Linked DNA regions of Homo sapiens: region 1 is linked to region 2. Evidence: promoter capture Hi-C in human tissues and cell types (Jung and others, 2019). All regions are on one chromosome and are shown on one strand. Each heading gives the region's core, a stretch centred on a gene start or on the middle of the fragment in contact. The rest is flanking DNA. Distances are from core to core; before and after follow the strand shown. Region 1 has its middle 120 kb from the start of LINC00845. Region 2 holds the start of RTKN2 (rhotekin 2).

The links. Contacts are between HindIII fragments. The study calls those that stand out against the background at their distance.
Region 1: a fragment that was not itself captured here is called in contact with the fragment with the promoter of RTKN2 in region 2 in 1 of the 25 tissues and cell types used here (lymphoblastoid cells).

The regions. Positions count from the first base shown.
Region 1 is chr10:61,131,228-61,136,026 of GRCh38, forward strand. No RefSeq gene overlaps it. Among named protein-coding and RNA genes, the nearest start is that of LINC00845, 120 kb to the left of the region's middle. RefSeq lists an enhancer at 4,292-4,521. The HindIII fragment of the contact is 9,997 bases long and covers 1-4,799 here.
Region 2 is chr10:62,267,110-62,271,744 of GRCh38, forward strand. RTKN2 (rhotekin 2) reads right to left here and starts at 1,735. Exons shown (of 12, transcript NM_145307.4): 1 at 1,442-1,735. The coding sequence starts at 1,501. All of the region lies in intron 1 of LINC02621 (long intergenic non-protein coding RNA 2621), which reads left to right. RefSeq lists a silencer at 1,487-1,816. The HindIII fragment of the contact is 3,580 bases long and covers 1-2,325 here.

The DNA.
Region 1 (4,799 bases), core at 1,661-4,160, 1.1 Mb before region 2:
CCTCCTCTTATGATCTCCTCACCTACTCCCCAAAGTCTGACACTCCATTAACAAAGGGCTGCTTGTGTGCCATAATCATTTTGTAATAAAGAAACCAAATAATGTAGATAAAATATTTAACGTGGTGCATGTCACATAGAAAATACTCAATATTTAACAGTAATGATTATTATTTCACAGTTTCAAAGGTAGCTTCACAAAACTAGTTTTTGAGATGTCACATTATTTCCTTTAGATAAAATTGAATTCAGCTCTGAGTCTTTTTCTTTGTTCTCTTTCATTGGTAGGAAATTTTCTTTCAGTCATTATTAGGCTACCCCCTCCCAGTCCTGTGGCCTAATAGAGAAAAGAGTAGTTGTCTAAATACATATGGCCATTCACTGTTAGGGAACACTTGTATCTGCCTTGCTTGGTCCTGGGACTTTGCTGCACACTCTAAGGCCAAGGGCCTAGACCCCTGTGGGCCACCATTTAGTCCCTCTCCACTGAGGTCCCACAAGCTCTCTTTAGTGCTAGGGGTGAGTTCAGACCCAGTTCCCGAGGGACCCTCAGAATTTGTCCTGGACTTGGGGGTTCCCCTCTCTCCTGTTACTTTCTTTTCCCTCATTTATTCCTATGTCATATTTGCAAAGTCTCTCTCCTTTCACCCCTATAGCAGGGTCTCCAGATTTAGAAAAAAGAAAAGAAAAGAAAAAAAATCTCTGCCCAATTAAATTTGAATTTCAGATTAACAACATTTTTTTTTAGTATAAATATGTTCCATGCAATTCTTGGGACAAACACTAAAAAAATCATTTATCTAAAATGTATATTTAACTTGGCATTCTATATTTTATCTGGCAGCATTACCCTAAGGGTTTCTGCTTTGGAAAGACCCAGGAATGGAAGTTTTGGGTAGGGTCAGATCTTTCAGTGCAAATATTCATTGAGATAGAAGAACAATCTGCATAGACTTAGAAAGGTACAGGGGAAAACCCAGGATCGACAAAATAAAAAATAATATCCATAAATAATCCTGTTACTCTCGTCATCATTGTAGTTTCCATCATCATGTTTATTCCCATCATGATCATTGCCCAAGGTGAGTTGTTGTTAAAGACTCAAGCCCCCTGGGGAAGGCCATAATTCATGGATCTTTTTCTGAACACAGTTTAAATTAAGATAAAAGAGAAGGAGAAACTAGGAGGCATGGGAAGGATGCAAGCTGAGTCAGTGGAACAGAAAGCAAGAGGAAGAGGTTAGGGCCAGAAAGGCAGCTTTACAGCTCATAATTTCACTGATTGGCTTGACTCGGGCAGCACAGGCTGGTAGAACACACTCTAGCCTGACTTCATTCAAGTCTCAGCACCACCACCACCAAGCCATGTAGCTTGGGCAGGTCACTTGACTTGTTCCTCCAGCTGAAATCCCTCATGAGATTCAAACCCAGCAATGCACCCAAATGTTTCCTAAGTGCCCCAAAGTCAACATGTACAAATGCAAATGCAAACTCATCTTCCTCTTCTCCAGACCTGCCATCTCTATATTAGTGAAATGATACCACCATCTTCACAGGGATCAAGGCAGGACACCTACAAGTCATCTTAGACCTAGCTGCAATGTGTTACTCCTGGTGACTGCCACAGTGAATTACCTGGCTGGTAAAGCCTACATCCTCTGCCTCCTTCTCTGCTATGAAAAGTGAGGAGCTTCTCAGACAGAAGAGGCCCATTTGAGGTAGGAGCTGGGACTTTACTTTGGAGGCAGGGCTTAGACTACAGGCCAGATTGAAGACTGGCTTAAACAGGGAAAAGGAAAACACCTCTCCATGAGACATGCCCAACAGTGCCATGTCAGTTTACCATTGCCATGGTAACACCCAGAAGCTACCATCCCTTTCCATGGCAATGAACGAATGATCCACAAGTTACCACCTCTTTTCTAGAAATTTCTGGATAATCTACCCTTTAATTTGTGTAGAATTAAAATTAGGTATAAATATGACTGTAGAACTGCACCTGAGCTGCTACTCTGGGCATACTGCCTATGGATCAGCCCTGTTCTTCAAAAGCAGTACCTCTGCTGTATACTACCACCTCAATAAAAGTTGCTGTCTATTACCACCACTTTGCTCTTGAATTCTTTCCTGGGCAAAGTCAAGAACCCTCCCAGGCTAAGCCCCAATCTGAGGCTTTGCTTGTCCTGCATCACATCCACACTTTTCCAGGAGGACAAAGACACAATGAAGTGTTCAGAGAAAGCAGCAAATGGTTCTTCTGTACATTTAGGGGAAAAGTTGAATTACATATCCTCCTGTATTTTTACAATGACTTTGTGATAGTCCACTCTATCTTTCTTTTCTTTAATTGACTTGAACAAGTCTCTGTTCCTGTCTATCAAAATAACAAACAGAAAATCATTTTACTCTCTTTTTCTCCATGGACATTTTACCAGAAGATGTTGAACAAAACTAGAGTGGCAGGGTACTACTGGGGGATATTTACAGCCTGGGGAACTTCTTGTGTCTTCCAGAGCTAAAAAATACATATTAGAACTTACCATAATGGCAATCTTCTTAATAATATCCCAATGAACAGAAAATTATTTTGGATGAATCCATTGAGTTTAAACCCAGTAGAACAAGGTAAAAAGGCTTTTGAAAAGAAGCAACCAATCTTCTCTACTCTTAAAATAGCCTTTTCTTTCCCATAGAACATAGAGAAAGAAACCAAATAAGTGGGAAATGGATGAGAAAGCACAATCAATACTAATTCATGGTTCCTGCTTTGAAAGGCAGCAAAAAGTCATTCATAATCTCATGTGCTTTTCTAGTTGTGTCACACGAAGGCCTATGGTAAAAGGATAAGAGGAAAAGTAAGGTCATTACCCATGTTTGAAAAATTGTTAAATTGTTTGCGAAAGGAAAAAAATCTCTTCTTAATAATGTCAGAGACACAGGACCTAAGTGAAATCAATTTTGGGTAGTTTGGGATCATTCTAGCCCAGTCAAGAGAAAGTTTCAAAACGGACTGTAGCAATGAGGTCCATTTGTTATAAAACCACCCTAGAGGAGAATGCACATGTAGGCACACGAACACATGCACACCCCATACTTTGTATTTTTTATATATTTGTGTATATAAAGTGTTCTGTGTTTAAAATTTTATATATATTATTGACACTCAAAGTATAAATTCCTGACCCTCTCCCAACAAAAATTAGATTCAGAATTAAGTTTAGATCTTTGGTCAGCTTTTGGTAGGGTTTGCAAATAATTGAATATAGAAAGCAAGTGTTTTCTGTTTTCTGAGTTCTATAAGAATCCAGTGTGTGTATATTTGCATGTGTGCATGCATAGAATTCTTTCCCTTATGGTTTGCGATCATCCTACTTTATGCCTCTCAGATATTTAGCTAGGAAAATGACTCAAGTTTCATAAATGTCATTCCAATATCGGATCATATCCAGAGCTGTTGGTGTGTTTGATGGAGACATACCTTAAGCAACTGTTTATTGAGTGCCTGTTAAGTACTAAGTACCTTCTTCATGACAATCCTCCTAGTTCAGATTTGTACCCATTTTTCAGGTTAAGTCACTTACTCAGGATCATGTTTGACCCCCAAGTAACTGAGCTGGAATTCAGTTCTATGGTGCCAAACTTGAAAGCCCAATCTTCCCATGACTAGTGATGACTCTATGGATCCTGGAGACAGACTGACTTTGAATCCTGTTCCTGTTGCTTTCTAGCTGTTTTACCTTTGGCAAATTACATAATTTTTGTGCCTTAGTGTCCTCATCTGTAAAATGAAAATAATAGTCATTTTAATATTATTTATTTCTTTGCTAATCATTTATTAATTTAATAAGAAATTGCTTAACAAGATTGTTGGGAGGATTAAATCATACAATATATATAAAGTGCTTACCCAACCCATTGTAAGATCCCATCTATATTGGTCATTGTCATGATTATTCTGTACTTTGGCAAGAGATTCAAGCCTTGAAGCTCTCATGGCCCATGGAGATGCTAGTTTACTAGCAATTTGCCCCATAGACTGGTTGGTTCATGGCTAGCAGCAACTACTTTACCTGTCCTATCTCTACGTGCTTCTAAATGGGGGAGGGGAGGGGCTCCAGGGTGTGTAAGCACATCAAATGCAGACAGGATTTCCCCAAATGCATTGCAGGTGCCAGAGGACTGGCAAGCCCATGTTTACTTTCTAGATTACTTGGGAAAACTTGAGAACTCGCTGATGGTGGGATGGCTTTTCAATTAGAATAACCTCACTCAAAATCATACATATTTTTTCCTTTTGGGAAGTATAACTTGTTTGATTCTAGTGTCCAAAACTTACCTTCTCTGAATGCCTCCCACCATGGTGCCTGAGCGAGGGGCTTTCCACTTCAGAATGAGGTCATAAATATGCAAATATTCTTCTCTGTGGAGTTGACTTTACCAGGCTCATTTACAAAGTTACTCAGCTGTGACTTGGCCACTTAAATAACCCTGTTGCTTAAAGATATCCCTTACTCCAGCCATTTACCCTCTAAACCATGTTCATGTTATAGAAAAATACAAATACAAGCACGTTCTGCACGAGCAGTATTACAAAGCTGTATTTTGTCAGTTGTAAATTATATCTGGTTTTGAGGGAGGAAAGGGAGATCAACAATTCTATATTCTATGAAACAATTTCATAAGAAATATTAGACCCTCATAATTCTGAAGTCTCATATGCTAGTTTTATTTTGTTCTGGTAGGTTTTAGAAGCAAACAATTCTCTGGGTGCCTAAAAGTAATGCCTAGGTTTCTGTTTTTA
Region 2 (4,635 bases), core at 485-2,984:
TGTTAGGTTGCAACCTACTACTATTTTGTGTTTTTTCTTCAAATCCAAACTGAGGAAGTAATTCCACATTTCAATCATTTTGATTTTGTCCTGCCTAAGAAATTAAGTATTGTATCTTCCCACATGTAAATAACCCAGGCTTTATGTATATTTAAACATTTATTTTCATTCCATGCAACTAAACTTCATGATTTTATCCTCTTGTCGCTTCTGTACCATTCCTATTCTTGCAGCCTGCAGCTCAATAAATACACCTGGACAGCTACACCTACACCTATATGATAGGTGCAAGAACATCAATAGAATGGCAATTCACTATAAATCAAGATTTTGTTAGCAATCAGGACAGCCAAAGTACATAACAGGACAGGACTGAAAAAAAGTACATCAAAATCTTTGAAATTTTTGAAAATGCTGGCATAAAACAGCATAAGTATTACTGATAAAGACACTGGACTTCTTTTGCATAATGAATCTTAATGTCTTGCTTTATTTTTCACAGTATTATTGAAAACTAATAATTTTGTGTCTGCTAAGGAAATCCCAGATTTTTAAACAAAGATATCAGGTGCCTCCATATGAATGAAATTGCAAATATTCTACCAATTTTGACCTACAAAACTGGCAATTTCATATGGCTTAACCTATTTCTGAAGTAGGTAAAAGAAGGTAGAGATTAAAATAGAAGTGAAGGTCCAGCTTAAAGACATCAGAGTTTTCTTTTAAGACCCTAAAGTTATGGTTAAGAGTGAAAAGTGGTAACATTTTAATAACTGATGCTGCCAAGAAATAATGTTGGTTTAGTAAAAAGTAAAATAAAAAGGTTTCTAACGCATTTTACATGGCTCAAAAGCAAACATCAAACTTCTATCCAATGTCACGTGTACTCCCTCTTTCCTTTCAAATGATTTGAGAAAGAACCCAGTATCAAACCTTCAACTTTTTCTAAAGTGCAGAGGTTGCTGTTTGCCTCTACTCCGCTCCGAACCCCCTCCCCCCAACCAGTTCTGTGTTGTGTGTAGACATCGCTCCATTACTGTGCTTCCCATTAAATCCGTAATAAGCCAGCTGTCCACTGGCCTCGCTGGGTTTCTTGGGAATCGAGGGGCTCCCATTTCCCCGGCATCACCTACACCTGCAAAAAGACAGGCGTCCAAAGCCTGGGGAGGGCAGCGGACAGGTGCGCCCGCAAACGCGCGCCTGGACCCCGGCACCGCCTTCCCAATCCGGACCTCAGCTGCCTGAGAAACTCGGGGGTTCCGATGTCCAGGCCCTTTAGAGCCCCAAGAGCGCAGTCTCCTAATCCCTCCCTTTGTTTCTGGCCACCGCTGAAATAGAGGAGCGGGGGAGAGGCTTTCCCGACTCCTCCACAAAGCAAATGCGCGAGGAACAGAACCCCGGCTCCCTCACCTTCCGCGGCAGGGTCCCTCCCGCAACTCACCTGCTGGGTGGGAAGCCCCGCCAGGCGGAGCGCAGGACCCCTCAGGCTCGGCCCCTCCATCTCCAACGCGAACTGTCCGGGCCGTCGCCACTCCTTCAAAGGGAAGATTTGAAAAGCCCGCCCCTGGCAGGAGCCGCAGAGGACGCCAACCGCCCGGCCGTACCAAGTCCCAGTCGCAGGGGCCGGGGGCGCAGGAGGAGCCGGGCCGAAGCGCACGCGCAGTGGGCGCGCCTTGCGCTCTGCAGCTCCCGCCGCCGGAAGTTGCCGAGACCCCAGGCTCTAGCGCGGCGGGGCGGGGGAGAGGGCGGCGGTGCCGGACTTAAGTCCCGGACAGGGATGTGGGCGGGCCTGGGACGGGAGTGGGAGGGGCCGCGGGGAAAGCTTCGGCGGCGGAGCGCACCTGTCCCAGCTCAGGTTTCTGGCTGGTGGTTTTCGTGGCACGCCCTTTGCACTGGGAGCTTTCTGCCCGCATCCCACCGAAGGCCTTCCAAAGTGATCGTAGCTGGACAGACTCGAGGCTGCAGTCCCTGTACTCCCAGACAACTCAGGAACCCACAGCGTCACTAAGAGCCCACGGTCTCGTTCCTAAAGAACCAATAACATTACTCTCAAACACAGCGCTCTCTGTTTCCTCTCACCTTTCCCAGCGTTGTCACCAGGGTCACCCAGATATCATGGTTTTATTCATCAGGTTCGTGAGATACTATGTCAGGCATTTCACAAGGTCTTGTCTTTGCCCCCAGTGTTTATAATCCCAGATGTTCCCCGCCAACTACTCTGTCCACTTACTTTGTTTTCTTGCGAAGGATTTCTTTCAGCTCTCTCGCCCTCTCTTTCCCTCTCCAACATCTAAGGTGATAGCAAAATGGGGTACTATTTCTCAAGAGCCTCATTTCTTGCTGCCCTAAAGATTAGCACAAAGACCCATTTTAATTCATGGATTTTGTTAATTATAAAGGGAAACATGGGATTTTTAAAAATCAAAATGAAAGCAGCAAAGATATCACACCCTTGAAAAGTCCTTAAAATTCATTGTCCCTAGTTTATCTTTATTTCCCCCTTGAAAAGGCAAGAGGAAGCCTCTTCTTGAAGAGTCTACCAAATCAACCCTCCAGCCCTCATCGCCTAGAAACCCTTGGGCATTTTTCCTCCATAAATAGGTGCCCATGTTTTTTCATTTGCCTGGGACAGACCCTGTCTGGGTCTGTTGTCCCAATGTTGCACCAATCTTGCACTTATCCCGTAGTGGATATTATGTGGTCATTTTAACTGCAAGACCCTTTTAAAAGCAGTTGGTTTGAGAATGTACTTTAAAAATATAATGGATACCCTTCCTCAAATAGGTAAAATGCCTCTTTAAGACCTTTTGGACTAGGTGATACTAGAAGCTTCCCAGTTGGGAATGATGGTCCCCTTGCATTATGAATGACCCATATCCTTACAACAATAAAATATGTGTTCAAAATTATCAACACGGAGCTCACCTCGTTTTCTACAAACACAGGTCTGAATTTCAGAATCATTATGTGCCCTTTCCTCCAATGCACATCTCTGTCTTATGCTACCACTTTGTGGTATAATTATCTCCTACTCAGTATGAGGCTGCATGAGCCTAGCTGTAGTACCTGACTCAAAAGAAAAACACACCGCGAGCCCATCATCAGACACATAGTACTTACAACACATACAGCTCTCAGTTGCAGATCAAAATACATGTAGAAGCCAGCACTTCATTAAAACAGAGGTGAGTCAACCAGTTTAGAATTGGACACTGATAGAGGAGTATTTGATGAGTTAAAACCAGATATTTAACTGGAGATACATTTATTTATGATACTAGAAGAAAGAGATTAGGCAAGATCATATTTAGTAATTATCTGTAGAATACAGTTGTTACAAGAGACCTTTCTCTTGGGAGAAGAAGTTATGATGTGGTCCTGTTTTTATTATACACCGGGAGAGGTCCCCAGGAATTGCTTAAGTACTTAATTATTATATGATGATTAAAATACCTTGGAGTAGGACTTATGTTTCCTTATTTATCCTCAAGTCCTTACTTGTTACTGCTAATTTCATCAGCCAGTTTTCTCTGGTGTATGTAATGCACATAAAATATACTCATCCATGGAAACTACAAAATTTAAAGAGTTCATATGCAGTGGCTTCATTAGCTTGAGGATTTCTCTATCAATCTATTTATTTTACAGTTCCCAGAAAGTGAGAAGTACTACGTTTTACCATCTCAAATATCTGAGAGAGAACATTTGGGCATCTCTTAACCCATCATCCCTGGGCTCTTACAGAAGGTCGATATCCACCGAACTGCCCAGATGTAGTAGCTTCAGCTAGAGGATGAGTGATGGAATTACTGTCCTACCAATATTACTTCTCACTATAAGGTCAATATTTAATACTAATTAAAAATATACGTATATTAGTTATCCCTAATATAGCAGATAGTATTATAATAAATTAAAAACTACAGAAGCCAATCTAGATAATACCAATAGATGCCAAAGTATATTTTTCTTCTCTTATTTTCTGTATTCTTGTTTTAAACTAAGAGGCTAAAGGAAAACACTGAACTTAAAATCAGCTCTCTGTTACACAACAGATCCATTATTTTGAAAAATGTGGTTTGACACAGAACAGATAACTTGTGATTTTGAATATCCTCCTAGCCTCTCTTATAAAAAAAAAGTCCTCTTAAAAATTCTCTTGGTGCTTTCTTTTACTCATCTGTTCATCTTGTAGATAATCTGTTTAGGTTGAACTGAATAAATTAAAGTTATATTTTGAATTATATATGGAAGAAACAGAGAGAAAGAAGGAACTGAGGTCAAGGTGCTAAGCAGAAGTGCAGCATTTTCTTAAATGAATGTCTATGAATAGCTGAAGCATCACATAATCAGAAGGAGGCTATGGAATGTGGAGTCTGAGGATTTATTAGCCCGATTACCTTGGGCAAGCCACTCAGTTTTCTTATCTATAAAACAAGTATATAATACCCATCTTGTTTTTTAAAGTTGTTGGGAGACTCAGATAAGATTTTTGAGAGTGCTTTGTAAACTGTCCCACAAAAACAGGAGTTGTTACTACTGTAGGAAGAAAACATGAGTACCGAAAGGCAACTGTAAAGTACCTATAGAACTATGAGAACTGAATGAGAAAAATGTATGTGAATTGGATATATT